Regions from separate parts of the Homo sapiens genome. Here region 2 is linked to region 1. The links are contacts of gene promoters, found by promoter capture Hi-C in blood cells and fetal thymus (Javierre and others, 2016). All regions are on one chromosome and are shown on one strand. The core of a region is centred on a gene start or on the middle of the fragment in contact, and the rest is flanking DNA. Distances in the headings are between cores, read along the strand shown.

The links. Contacts are between HindIII fragments. The CHiCAGO score rates a contact against its expected background, and 5 or more counts as called.
Region 2: a contact is called between the fragment with the promoter of HDAC8 here and a fragment that was not itself captured in region 1, in 1 of 17 cell types (total B cells). The highest score is 5.3, in total B cells.

What each region holds. Positions count from the first base shown.
Region 1 is chrX:73,940,955-73,947,840 of GRCh38, forward strand. It overlaps JPX (JPX transcript, XIST activator), which reads left to right and starts at 3,370. Exons shown (of 5, transcript NR_024582.1): 1 at 3,370-3,511; 2 at 3,630-3,708. RefSeq lists an enhancer at 3,395-3,494. The HindIII fragment of the contact is 2,079 bases long and covers 1,611-3,689 here.
Region 2 is chrX:72,568,727-72,575,612 of GRCh38, forward strand. It overlaps HDAC8 (histone deacetylase 8), which reads right to left and starts at 4,117. Exons shown (of 11, transcript NM_018486.3): 1 at 3,925-4,117; 2 at 3,331-3,383; 3 at 28-158. The coding sequence starts at 4,035. RefSeq lists an enhancer at 4,080-4,209. The HindIII fragment of the contact is 11,149 bases long and covers 1-6,886 here.

The sequences.
Region 1 (6,886 bases), core at 1,400-3,899:
GTCTTAAATTGTGAATGCAAAGATAACATGAACTATTGTCCCAGGGGTCATTGCCTTTGTAAATTTGTTTGTAAAATTTCCAAATAAGAGCCCTTTCTAAGCAAGTGCCTGCCAAATATGGCTGGATGATGGTAAAATCCCAACTCTCCTTTCACCTATTTGGATTTTATATTCTTTCAGGAGGCAGCTTTCTTACCTTTGGAACAATTACTTATGTAAGAGGAAAAGTGGGTTTCCACAGAGAATGAAATAGGTACTAGCTAGTTCAGTAGTCCAGGAAGCTACCAAGATCAGTCTTCAAGAGGAAATATTGTAACCTGGCAACCAAACTCTGTCTCTGGTGTTTTCTGGAGGCATTTTTCTTAAGTTGGAATTGAGGCAGGTAGACTAGGGGAAATGTGAGTGAGTGGAGGCAGGGGCATGAAGCTTGCACCGTGGCTGTGAATTAATATAGCTTTTCTGTCCCTGGGTCTCTGGGTCTAGCACTTTTCAATTCGAAACATTACCAAATAAAACCAGTGCATCAATTTGTTAAAAAAAAAAAATTGACTGGCAGCTTTATAAGCCTATTTCTCGAATAATGCTTCCTGCTGATTATTTCTTTATATGTGTATTTAAAAAATTCAGCCAGGCACGGTGGCTCATGCCTGTAATCCCAGCACTTTGGGAGGCCAAGGCGGGTGGATCACCTGAGGTCAGGAGTTCGAGACCAACCTGACCAATACGGTGAAACCTCGTCTCTACTAAAAATACAAAAATTAGCCAGGTGTGGGGGCCTGCGCCTGTAGTCCCAGCTACATGGGAGGCTGAGACAGGAGAATCGCTTGAACCCGAGAGAGGAGAGGCAGAGGTTGCAGTGAGCCGAGTTTGCGCCACTGCACTCCAGCCTGGGTGACAGAGTGAGACTCTGTCTCAAAAAAATAAAAAAAATAAATAAATAAAAAGTCATTTTCCTCCCAAACAGACAAAGTCCCAAGAGTCATCAGAACAAAACTGCAATAGATTTCATTTTTTTTTTTTTTGAGACGGAGTCTTGCTCTGTCGCCCAGGCTGGAGTGCAGTGGCGCTATCTCGGCTCACTGCAACCTCCGCCTCCTGGATTCAAGTGATTATCTCGCCTCAGCCTCTCGAGTAGCTGGGATTGCAGGTGCCCACCGCCACATCCAGCTAATTTTTGTATTGCTGTAATTGTTGGCCAGTCTGGTCTCAAACTCCTGATCTCAGGTGATCCGCCCACCTCGGCCTCCCAAAGTGCTGGGATTACAGGCATGAGCCACCGTGCCCGGCAGGTTTCACTCATTTTTATCCCCCTTTCTACTTACCATTAAATTACTACAGAGGGATGTTTTGTACCTGCCCCAAAATAAATGCATGGTGTGCTACTGCCAAAAGAAAATATGACAGAATTTACAGTCATATTTGCCTCCTCTGCAACATTCAGACTTGATCCTTCTTTTACCCTACATTGTCTATCTGATTCCCTACTCTTTTAGTACTAGTTCTTTCTTAGGAGCTCAACAGTTCCTTTTGCAATTGGTTTTTGGTGCCTGTCCTACAAATTTCCAAGATGTGCTCAAATATGCCTAAACCCTAGGAGATGAAACAGTTTAAGCTTAGAGACCTCTCCACCTCTATTACTGACCTTTGAACACGTAACTGGTTTTATGTGGTGTTTTTGGTGTTTTACTCCAAAATGTCCATATGTCAATGCCCAGATGTTTTATACAACTGTGTATCATTACCTTCCTTTTGAGGGTGACGATATCAAAATAAAGACAGAAAAGTAATGATGCAAATGAATAGAATAAGAGGTGTTCTATGTGGGGGTCTCGTAGAAAACCAGAGACAACATTAGTGCATAGAGAGAAACTATAGCTTTGGAAAGGGATTAGGACCTCTAAAGTGTCTTTTCCTTACCGGTGAAGCACAAGCCTTCCCCCAGAAACCTGCACCACTCACACATAATGCTTCACAAACAAGTTTTGGCCTCGGTTTTTTCATACTTTTGGGGCTGGTATCCAGCTAGTGTATTTTCCCTCATGGAGCGGGAACAACAGAGATAAAGGTTTTGATAAATATAGAGGCCTCTTAGAAGTGTCAGGACTGAATCTAAAAGAGCTGAATCTAAAAGAAGAGGGAGGCTGGGTGCGGTGGCTCACGCCTATAATACCAGCACTTTGGGAGGCTGAGGCGGGTGGATCACTTGAGGTCAGGAGTGCAAGACCAGCCTGGCCATGATGGTGAGACCCCCGTCTCTAGTAAAAATTAGCTGGACATGGTGGCAGATGCCTGTAATCCCAGCTACTTAGGAGGCTGAGGCTGGAGAATCGCTTGAACCCAGGAGGCGGAGGTAGCACCGAGCCAAGATCGCGCCACTGCACTCCAGCCTGGGCGACAGAGCAAGACTCCGTCTCAAAAAAATAAAACAAAAATAAATAAAAGAAGAGGGAAGATGGAAGGACTTTTAGGCTCAAGAGCAGCATCTCAACTCTTTTTTTTTTTTTTTTTTTTTGAGACGGAGTCTGGCACGGTCGCCCAGGCTGGAATGCAGCAGCACGATCTCAGCTCACTGCAACCTCCGCCTCCCGGGTTCAAGCGATTCTCCCACCTCAGCCTCCCAAGTAGCTGGGATTACACTGAGATTACAGGCAAGCGCCACCACACCTGGCTACCAACTCTTTTATGAAGACTCTTTTGTTTACAGAATTAAAGGAAGCACCTTGTTCTGAATCCAGTTTTGCCATTGACGGACTCACTGTATGACTAGGCCAAAACCCTCTGGTTTCTGTTTTCCCATTAGTTGGTTGAAGTACATACACCCTCATCTATCGGAACACGGGGCTTAGTAAAGTGAAAAGAAGTAGGTTCTAGCTCATTCTAGCACTTTTGGAAAATTGGGTCACCTCTTTGGGCCTTAATTTCGTCATCTATAAAACAGGAAAAAATCAGTCCTCAGCTTACCTGATGTTGCAATGACTTAGTGAGATAACAGAAGTGAATGGCAGCTTTGTCTATCATACTTGTGAGGTAAAGTTAATGAGAGTGAGAGATCTGGAAATAGGGAAGAAAGAAAGGAGTCGAGGCAAAGCTAAAAGAAATTTGGGTTGGGAAAGGAAAAAAGAAATGAAGAGAAAGAAAAAGGAAAAGGGAATTTCAAAAGAGATAAAGGCTGTGAGAGGAAGTGCAACAGGTCAGGAAACTGGGGGAGGGTCCACGGCAACGGCTGCGGCACGGCAACGGCTGCGGCACGGCAACGGCTGGGGCACGGCAACGGCTGGTGCATGTTGCCGGCGGAGGCATTTAGGTAGTGCACGACGGCTGGGCGCCGGGCCTGTTTGGCTGTGACGCCCACCCCCGGCTTTCATCCGCCTATGCCCTAGGGCTAGTGGAAGACTTAAGATGGCGGCGTTTGCACGGAGTGCAATCACTGCGTCCTTACGGGGGTTGCAAGGCGTCCGAAGTATGAGTCCACTAACAAAAGTCCAGAAACTCGCCAGTTAATAGTATTGTGGTGAGTGATGAGCCTCACGTTGGCTAGAGAAGTGGCCGTTAGCGAGGCTACACACTTTGGGATCGCGTGGCCTGAGTCGGGGGAGTAACCGGCCTGTATTCCATTTTTCTCTCTCCAGTCTCTTCAAAATATCGGAGAATAATTTCTTTCTCGCTGATCGCCTAACTTCTACTGACGAAGCTTGGAAGTTGCAGAAGGTAGCTCCTAGGAGGGATATATGGGTCGTTCTTTCCTTTTTCCTTATTTAAATGGGTTTTTATTGACACCATGTCGCGCCAAAATGGATTCCATCTCCTCAGAGCTTTCCTAGGAACAGCCTAACCTCTTGGGCCTAACTTTATTTTTTTTTTGTTCTGCCTTTCATGTCCAGACTTATTAGTTTTAATTAATTTGTTTGTAACGTATTCATTATGCACTAGATTAAACAATTTTTTTCTGTGCCCACTATACCCCAAATGTGGAGTTTTGGGCAAAAACTTAACATTTGTTCTTGAAGCATCTCAGAGGTGTGTGTGTGTGTGTGTAATCTTTGGGGGACTTACATTGCCAGGTTGATTACTCACTAAGAAAAGAGCTAGATTTCCTGTTTTCAAATCTGTTGGCGAAATTAAGTTTATGTTAAGCATAGCATGTTTACTATATATATGGGGAAGACAGTTAAGAGTGACATCTAATATGTTGTTAAATGCTTATGTGATTAAAGTAAATTTCATGCATTACCGCGGAGTATGAATTGCTGCAACCTTTTAGAAAAGAATCTGGCAATATTTAGGGAAATAAAAAATACAGATATCACTTGAACAAAAACTGGAATTCAAAAGTCTGACTTTTAAGAATCTATCCTACAGAAATAAAAGTACCAGTATATAATGACGCATGAACAAGGATACTTTTGTACTATTTTGTTCTTGTGACAACTGGAAACAACCTGTGTATCCATCAATAGGAGAATGTTTGAGTAAATTTTGGTACATAAATATTATGAAATATTTTGACTTTTGACCTAGAGAATCTTATGATGGATGGTTATGTGAGAAAAGTAAGTTGCAGAATAGTCTAGTATGAGTCCTTTTTTTTTTTTGATGGGGTGATGAAGGAATGCAAGATTAACTTCTTTATCTTTTGGAGGAGACGTTAAATATATTATGAAATACTTAAGACATATACAGATATACAAGGAATAATACAATGAACCTCTCTTCTCACCACCCAACGTAAAAAAAAAATCAAACATTAACGTGACAGTTGAAGTTCTCTGTGTACCCATCCCTGATTGCATCTCTCTCTTCTCTCATCCCCAGAGGTAACCATTATTTTAAACTTAGTGATTTTTACCATGCATTTCTTAAACTTCTGTGACATAGCAACTTCTAGCATGGATTATTTTTTGTAAATATTGAAGATGAATTTTTAAAAAAAGTCAATGAAAGAAGAAAGCAAGTGTCTATCTGACTTTTTTTTTTTTTTTTTTTTTGAGATGAAGTCTTGCTTGTTGCCCCGGCTAGAGCGTAGTGGCGCAATCTTGGCTCACTGCAACCTTCACCACCCCAGTTCAAGCGATTCTCCTGCCTCAGCCTCCCGAGTAGCTGGGATTGCAGGCGCCTGCCACTGTGCCCGGCTAATTTTAATTTAATTTTAATTTATTTTATATATATATAGAGAGAGAGAGAGGGAGAGAGACAGACAGACATGGAGTCTTGCTCTGTCACCCAGGCAGGAGTGTAGTGGCTCGATCTCGGTTCACTGTAACTTCCGCCTCCTGGGTTCAAGCGATTCTCATGCCTCAGCATCCAGAGTAGCCGAGATTACAGGCACACCTTGCCACGCCTGGCTAATTTTTGTATTTTTAGTAGAGACGGGTTTCCCTATATTGGCCAGGCTGGTCTCCAACCCCTGACCTCTGGTAATCTGCCTGCCTCGGCCTCCCAAAGTATTGGGATTACAGGCGTGAGCCACTGTGCCCAGCCTTATCTGACTATTACTGTAACAGTGGCCAATCAAAATTCCTTCTTTTCTTTTTTTTTTTCCTTGAGCCTAGAAATTTCTTAATTGAGGGGAGAATCTAGCAAGCAGTTGAGTCAAAGGGTGTAGATTATACTACAGTGGTAAAGAAAGTAAGCAGCTGGCAGTGAAAGCAATCTCAAGCAAATAATGAATGTTCCATGAACAAGATGCCTGAATTGAAAAACAGAACAAAACCAACTAACCAAACAAAAAACAATCCGTGGATCCTAACTCAAATCCAAGGTGATTTGAGCCTGCACTTGTAATTAGACAAAATCTATGAACTTCAGTTGCCTTGGAGGCATCTGAGGGAAATGAGGTTGCATGTAGATGAATCAGTTGTTTCTGGCATCATGTTAGTGTGATTACATTTAGCTGCTGTGTGCAAAACATTTTAGCAATCATTTAGGTCCAGGACGTGGAATTTATTAGTGCAACAACCCTGTAAACAGTGGTTAGAACATTAATAATTTTATTTTATTTATGTTTTATTTATTTTTTGAGACGGATTTTTGCTCTTGTTGCCCAGGTTGGAGTGCAATGGCGCGATCTCGGCTGACTGCAACCTCCACCTCCTGGATTCAAGCTATTCTCCTGCCTCAGCCTGCCGAGTAGCTGGGATTACAGGCATGTGCCACCGCACCCAGCTAATTTTGTATTTTTTAGTAGAGATGGGGTTTCTCCATGTTGGTCAGGCTGGTCTTGAACTCCTGACCTCAGGTGATCCGCCCACCTCAGCCTCCCAAAGTGCTGGGATTACAGGCGTGAGCCACCGCGCCCGGCCAGAACATTAGTTTTAAACTTCCTAACCCTTGGGAGAAGGCAAAACACTTGATGAAATCTACATAAAGACTAAAACATTTTACCAATTTTGCATTGTTTGTTTGAAATTGCATTGACGACTGGTATGTTAATTTTGTATATATTTTTATGAGAACAATGTTGGACATCATTTAATTTTTTTAGGTTTTTTTAATTGATTATTGATTGGTTCATTTGCAGGAACTGACTATTAGTAATCAAGGATACAAATTGTTAAGAGAATATGTTACAGAGAAAAACTTGACAAGCTAGACTTAGATTTTTGTCGTTAAAGATAATTTGTGGGATATGATTTTTATAAGGAGTTGCATTAAATAGAATGTCTTACACAGATTTAAGAGGTTAATAATTATAAAATTAAGATGAGTTCTTATAAAATATTCTTGAGGTATAATAAAATTATACTTGTGGAGTATATCTTTGAATAACATTTAAAAGCAAACTAATACTTTCCAGGTAAAATAATTATCAACATAACTTTTTAAAAATAATTCATAGTACTTCAGGTTATTTCTATGTTTGACACATTAACTTAAAAGAAAAAAGGAA
Region 2 (6,886 bases), core at 2,867-5,366, 1.4 Mb before region 1:
CCCATCACTGCCTGGTAATGACTTTACCTAGCCCATATTCTATGGAGTCCGGATGATCATCATCGCCCTCTTGGCTGACCTTCTGGAGATGCTGCAGATAAGCATCAGTGTGGAAGGTGGCCATCTCCTCCATGGAGGCCACTTTAGGCTTAACTATCCTAATAATAACAGAGAGAACAAAGAGAGGTCAGTGAGTCAGACCCAGCGTATGCCAGAAGCTAGAAACAGAAGCCAGCAGTCTGAGAAGAAAATACGTCTCAACTTCTGGTTCCAATAGGCTGGAGTAATAAACATATTCTGTTCTTCCACTGCACTGTGCGGTCTTCACTGCCTCACATCTACAGTAGTGACTCTATTAATAAGGGGCAAGAAGATAGATTTTCCCTTGAGTTTATAGGTAAGTAAACAAAAGTAATTATATTCAAGTTAAACAAATAATCAGGTATCAGACAGACTTTACCCTGTGAGTTACAACTTTCAGGACAAACTAGTAGGCAGGGATATTTTCATTTGAACCAGTTGCGAATTGGGCTATCTAATCCTTTCAGCTATATCTTTATTTTAATAGGCAGCTATGTTATCATGCATTTTGAATTTGGAGTCAGATTTGGAGTCAGAGAATTGGGTTCCTGTCCTAATTCTGTACTTACTAGCTCTATAACCTCAGATAAGTCAACTGTTCTGTAGTTCAGTTTTCTTATTTGTAAAATGGGGAACTTTATGGGACTTATGTGAAGATAAAAGGATAACACATACAAAAATGCTTGGTGGATAACTATCATTCTATTAACAGATAAAAAATGGGCAACCCAAAATGTAATGTTTCTAGACTTGGACCCTCCTATCTGCCTCTGAGAGCGAGGCGAGAAGGGGCAAAATGGTTGGAACCGGACTTCACTCAGAACCTCTCAACCTACTCCTCACGAAAAATGACAAATAGAAGCGAGTGAGGGAATAAAGGGAGCTAACCCAATAAGAGGCCTTACCACATCTAACCTCTAGCTGCCTATTCCCCATTTCCTCTTCTTGACCCCACAGCTGCCACTACTGTTCTCTAGCCCTTGCCACTTAAAGGGTGGTCCATAGACCAGGAGCATCAGCATTCCCTGGGTGCTTGTTAGAAATGCAGAACTTCAGACTTGCCTCAGACCTGAGTCAGAATTTGTATTTTAACATGATGATTTTTAAACAAGATGACACATTTTAAGGTGATTCATATACACATTCAAGTTGAAGGAGCCCTGACCTGGGCCACAGGGAGGCAGCAGTGGTTTTAAATGTCTGCTGAATGGGAACACAGCCATGAGTTTACGATGAATGAATACGACTATACAGGCTACTACTATCACCAAGGTAGCTGGAAGAAATCCTGTGGTTTGGCCTCAAAAGTGAAATACATAGCCAAGACCCAAGAATTCTTGCTTCTTCTTAAAGAAGACAAATCTATACCACCAGAGGTGAAAAATCTACCCATTAAAATAAAAATTTTGTAATATCTCGGACCGTATTTCCCAGTCCTAAAAGCTCCCTCTTCTAGTACCCTTCCATTTATTTTGGTAAATGTTAAAAAACACTTACTGAAAACCTCCCTATTTAACAGTAAGCAAACTGGACAGTTTTGCTTTGCTTTGATATCTTGTTTGTCATAAAATAATTTTTTGAAATGTTAAATAACTTTAATGGAAGGCATATAGTTACTATGTTAACCAAACCATATGGGTTAAAAAATGGCTTAAAATGGGTGTGGTGACACGTGCCTGTAGTCCCAGCTACTCGGGAGGCTGAGGCAGGAGAATCGCTTGAACCTGGGAGGCGGAGGTTGCAATGAGCCGAGATCGCGCCACTGCACTCCAGCCTGCGCGACAAAGCAAGACTCCATCAAAAAAAAAAAAAAAAGGCTTAAAAATTCCCTTTAAAAGGTACAAAATGATTTTGTTAATAATAAGGATAAAATCTGAAAGCCTATTATTACACTACCTTCTGGGAGATAAATGAAGCATAGCACACTAGTTGGTATGAGCACTCACCTATTTGGCCAGAAATTGTCATAAGTAATCCTATATGTGGCAGGGTTATATTTGCTCTTATAACGACATCAAATACAGAAATGGCAATAAACAGCAAGTTCATGTTTTTGGAAGAAACAGTTAGCTCTCTCTTGAGTTCTGGCGCAGTCTTGGCAGTTTTCTTTGGTCTTTTTTGTTTGTTTGTTTTTTGAGACGGAGTCTCACTCTGTCACCCAGGCTGGGGTGCAGTGGCGCAATCTCGGCTCACTGCAAGCTCCGCCTCTCGGGTTCACACCATTCTCCTGCCTCAGCCTCCCGAGTAGCTGGGACTACAGGCGCCTGCCACCACGCCCGGCTAATTTTTTGTATTTTTAGTAGAGACGGGGTTTCACCGTGTTAGCCAGGATGGTCTTGATCTCCTGAGCTCATGATCCGCCTGCCTCAGCCTCCCAAAGTACTAGGATTACAGGCGTGAGCCACCACGCCCGGCCTTCTTTGGTCTTGATCTGTCTCCAGCCTCACCCATTAAAGTTTGGTGCTGGTGGTGGGTTGTCTAAAAGTCTTAGGTTGAACTCACACCCTCAAATCTGGCTTAGAATGAAACGAAATCAAAAGAAAAATGGAACACCTCCTAGCTGAACACCTTTTTGTATGAGACAGGTTTTAATACCCAAATGTACTCAAAATCTCCACAATGCACTGCACCTACCCCTGGGATACTTAACCAAGCAATCGAGCTGTATTTCTAATGAACCTTAACTGCTTCCTGCACTTTCCACTCCCCTGTCCCAAGTTTTCTTTTCTTTTTCTTTCTTTCTTTCTTTTTTTTTTTTTTTTTTTTTTTTTTTTTTGAGACGGAGTTTCACTCTTGTTGCCCAGGCTGCAGTGCAATGGTGCAATCTCGGCTCACTGCAACCTTCACCTCCGGGGTTCAAGCGATTCTCCTGCCTCAGCCTCCCGAGTAGCTGGGATTACAGGCGCCCGCTACCACGTCCGGCTAATTTTTTTGTATTTTTAGTAGAGACGGGGTTTTGCCATGTTGGGCAGGCTGGTCTCAAATTACTGACCTCAGGCGATCCACCCACCTAGGCCTCCCAAAGTGCTGGGATTACAGGCGTGAGCCATGCTCTCGGCCCCCCAAGTTTTCTTAATTCTTCAAGAGCTTTCTTGGGATTACAGGCAGATTACAAACACTGTGAATACTTTCACAGAAAGCTAAAATAATTTTTTCAAAAGACCATTCTTTTCCTTGCCCCACTGTGAAGCAGGATATTAAGGCTACGAACACCTAGCTTCAGGGCTATGTTCAAGAAAGACAACTTACCTCATCTGCTTATGCAGTGCATATGCTTCAATCAAAGAATGCACCATACTGGCCTAAAAACATCAGCGTAAAAAAAAAAAAAGAAAAGCAGAAATAGTCTCTTTAAAGTTTAATTCAGCAAAATCCCCGTCAATCTCACCATCCTGAACAAAGGAACGGATTAATTTTGTTTCAACTGGCTTCCCTTCTGTTAACAGTTACAATACACTTTAGACAATACAGATACAAAGTATCAAAATCACTAAGGTGAAAGCTACCGGGCCTTAGGCAGGTGATGGAACACCTTCCCCCTGCAGCTTGTTTTCCCACGACTTCAGCGGTCCCCTATGAGTGGAAACTGCGTCCTCTCCCCTCCTCCGTACCCCCTCCCCCACTCCTACCTGTCCATTGGACGTCCCGAAGAGACATGCTGCGCTCTCAGAAACGATATGAGAACACTTCCTTCTGATACAGCTTTAGGTATCTGATACAGCTACTCGAAATTTCTGAAGATTTCCCCCAGCCCAGTGTCCTCTCCGCTTCCTAACGCTCTTTCGTCCACCGCCCCCACCCCCACCCCCAAAGCCCATGGTCTTTCATCCCGACTTCCCTTACCCGTTTGGGGATCTTGGCCAGGGAGTCACACATACTGACATACTCGGGACTATAGATATAAACCGGGACCAGCGACTGCCCACTGTCCGCCGGTTCCTCCGGCTCCTCCATCTTCCGCTTAAAACCGTTCCGCAGCCACCTTCCAGATCTGGCTTTTTTCGGACTCGGCCAGGGTTCCAGTTCCTGCTCCTCTGATCGGCCGCAGCGGTGCTCCCTGGTCAACATTCCCTCCTATTCTTGAGATCGCCGGAGACACTATCACCGCTCCCCATCCTATTGAAGGAATGGATGGGACTTCCCAGACCAGACTCCCCTCATTTAGTGACCACAGTTCAAGGAAAAGGGTTTGGCAGATGTAAAAGTCCAAATAGCTGTCAATTAGGATCGATTGTTTTTATGGCACAAATAAGTAGGGTCAAAACTAACCATCCTTGTTGCCCTACGGGGCCATTTGAGATGAAGTCAGACCAGTTTCACAGCATGCTGGGAGATGTAGTTTCCGGAGGTTTGAGCAACGGAAGAGCCGGGGCTAAACACTAAAATAACCGCGATTTTTAGTTTCAGCGCTAAGACCAAAAAAAAAAAAAAAAAAAAGTAGCCTCAACTCTTTATGAATTGTTTCAATCTGCAAACACATCCATTTCATCCATTTAACCATATAAACACAGATAGAACGTGGCCACCTAGAGCCCCCACCATCCAGCTACATCAGCTGCCTATCCTAAGGATAGGCTTTTTTTTTTTTTTTTTTTTTTTGGTGGGGGCGCTATTTAATGGCACAAATGGTTTGAAAAGTTTACACAGTAAATTCTGTGATGCAATTTTATAGTTCATTTCTTTTCATCATTAACTATCCATGTCCACATGAGAGTTAACAATCTCAATAATTTACTCTGGCAAATCTGATAGTACTTTCCCAAGAGACTGGCTGGTGCAGTGGAAATTGCTTGGTAGATTCCGATCAAGCAATGATGTCAAATGTAACTCCTTGAACATTCATGTGGTAGGAAGGTTGCAAGCAGTGGTGTTTGGAAACTGCAGCTCTTCTCCTCCTACCTCCTCTTGTTTCTGCAGCTAAACATAGATTAGGGAAATATTTTAGGTTTGGTGTGAGGGTCCAGTTTAAGACTATCTGAGGCGGTTTTAGAATTACCATCAGCATTTGGAGGTTCCTGGAGGCCCCTATGATCTGATACAAGCTGGCCAGTGCTCAGGATCTTAATTCTCATGGCAACCTAAACTGACTGACTAACACCACTGGGACAACCTAATATCCTTACTATATTTAAAGTCTGGCTTGCTTTTTAGACTTTAAACATTTATTGAAGATTGTGACATGCACATTGGCCATATTATCTCATTTCATCCTTGCAACAGTCCTATAAAGGAGGTTGCAATACACCCATTTTACAGATGCAGTTTAGAGAAACAACATTCAAAATCACATACTTAACAAGCAGATAAGTAGGAATTCAAAATTAGGTCAGCCTGACACTGAAGCCTTTGAACATTCCCTTTATTATATAAACTTGATTCGTCCAGGATGACTTTGTGTTATGATATAACTTTGTTCACCCTCCATTTTGTATCCCTTCAATACTTATTCTGAAAATCTTGGGGGTGTTTTGGTGATGTGCTCTGTAACTAGAATGTAAGATCTTATGTTTCTTTAATTTATGTCTTCCCATAGTAACTAGTTAAAAGCTCTGCAGTCATTCATTCATCAAACATTTATCTGATATTAAGTGTACAGTACAGCTGAGGATTCAAAGGTAAATTATGATGTGATCTCTGCTCTCAAGGAATTTGCATTCTTTTTTTTTTTTTTTTTTTTTTTGAGACAGAGGAGTCTTGCTCTGTCGCCCAGGCTGGAGTGCCGTGGCGCGATCTCCTCTCGCTGCAAGCTCCGCCTCCCGGGTTCATGCCATTCTCCTGCCTCAGCCTGTCCAAGTAGCTGGGACTACAGGCGCCCGCCACCACGCCCAGCTAATTTTTTTATTTTTAGTAGAGACGGGGTTTCACCGTGGTCTCTATCTCCTGACCTCGTGATCCGCCCGCCTCGGCCTCCCAAAGTGCTGGGATTACAAGTGTGAGCCACCGCGCCCAGCCAGAATTTGCATTCTTATACAGAAGATGGGGCAAGTACACAAGAAACCAAAGGCAATGCAGAGTCAATGAATGTAGGATGCTTAGCCTACTTAATAAATAAGCATTAAGTACTAAATAACTGGCATTTAATAAATGGTAACTAGAATTCATCTTTGATGGCATTTGAGAGGGTCTTAGGAGGTGGGCAAGATTTTGCTTGGTGAAGATGGGAGCCAGGAGAGGGCATGCTGACTAGAATGAACAGCATAAACAGTAACACAAAAGGGAAAATTTCTAGTCGAGTTTAGCTAAAAGGGCCAGATCATGAAGAACATTGAATACCAGGCTAAAGAGAATAGACTACATTCTGTGGGAAATGGGAAAACATATTTAGACAGAAATAGTAAGGAAAAAAGATTTCTATAGCAGCAGTGTGTAGGAAAGATTAGTCATTAAAAGGCTAGGGGCAGTTAGAGTGCCACAATGGTCCAAATAAGAAGTGATAATGATTTTAAACTAGGGTGGGGGCAATGGGAACAAAGGAGAAATAATGTACAGGGTAGGTTCAACAGGACTTTTTTATTACTTGGATATTGGTGAGAGGGAGGAAGATGGAAAAGGGTTGCTGAAAACTCTTAAATGTAAACTCTGGGTAAAGAAAAGACTAGAGGTAGCAATATAAGAAAGAGGGCAATCGGGAGGAAGAACTCATACAGTAGGGCAGAATAGACATAGATTCTGATTTTAAAAGTGTTGAAAAGTGTTTCAGAAATTAGTGGGTTAAACAATTGCAGTGATACACACACACACACTTTTCCATATAAAGAGGAGAAAACTGAAGTCATAAGAGTGGCTGAGCTAGGCAAGGGATGTG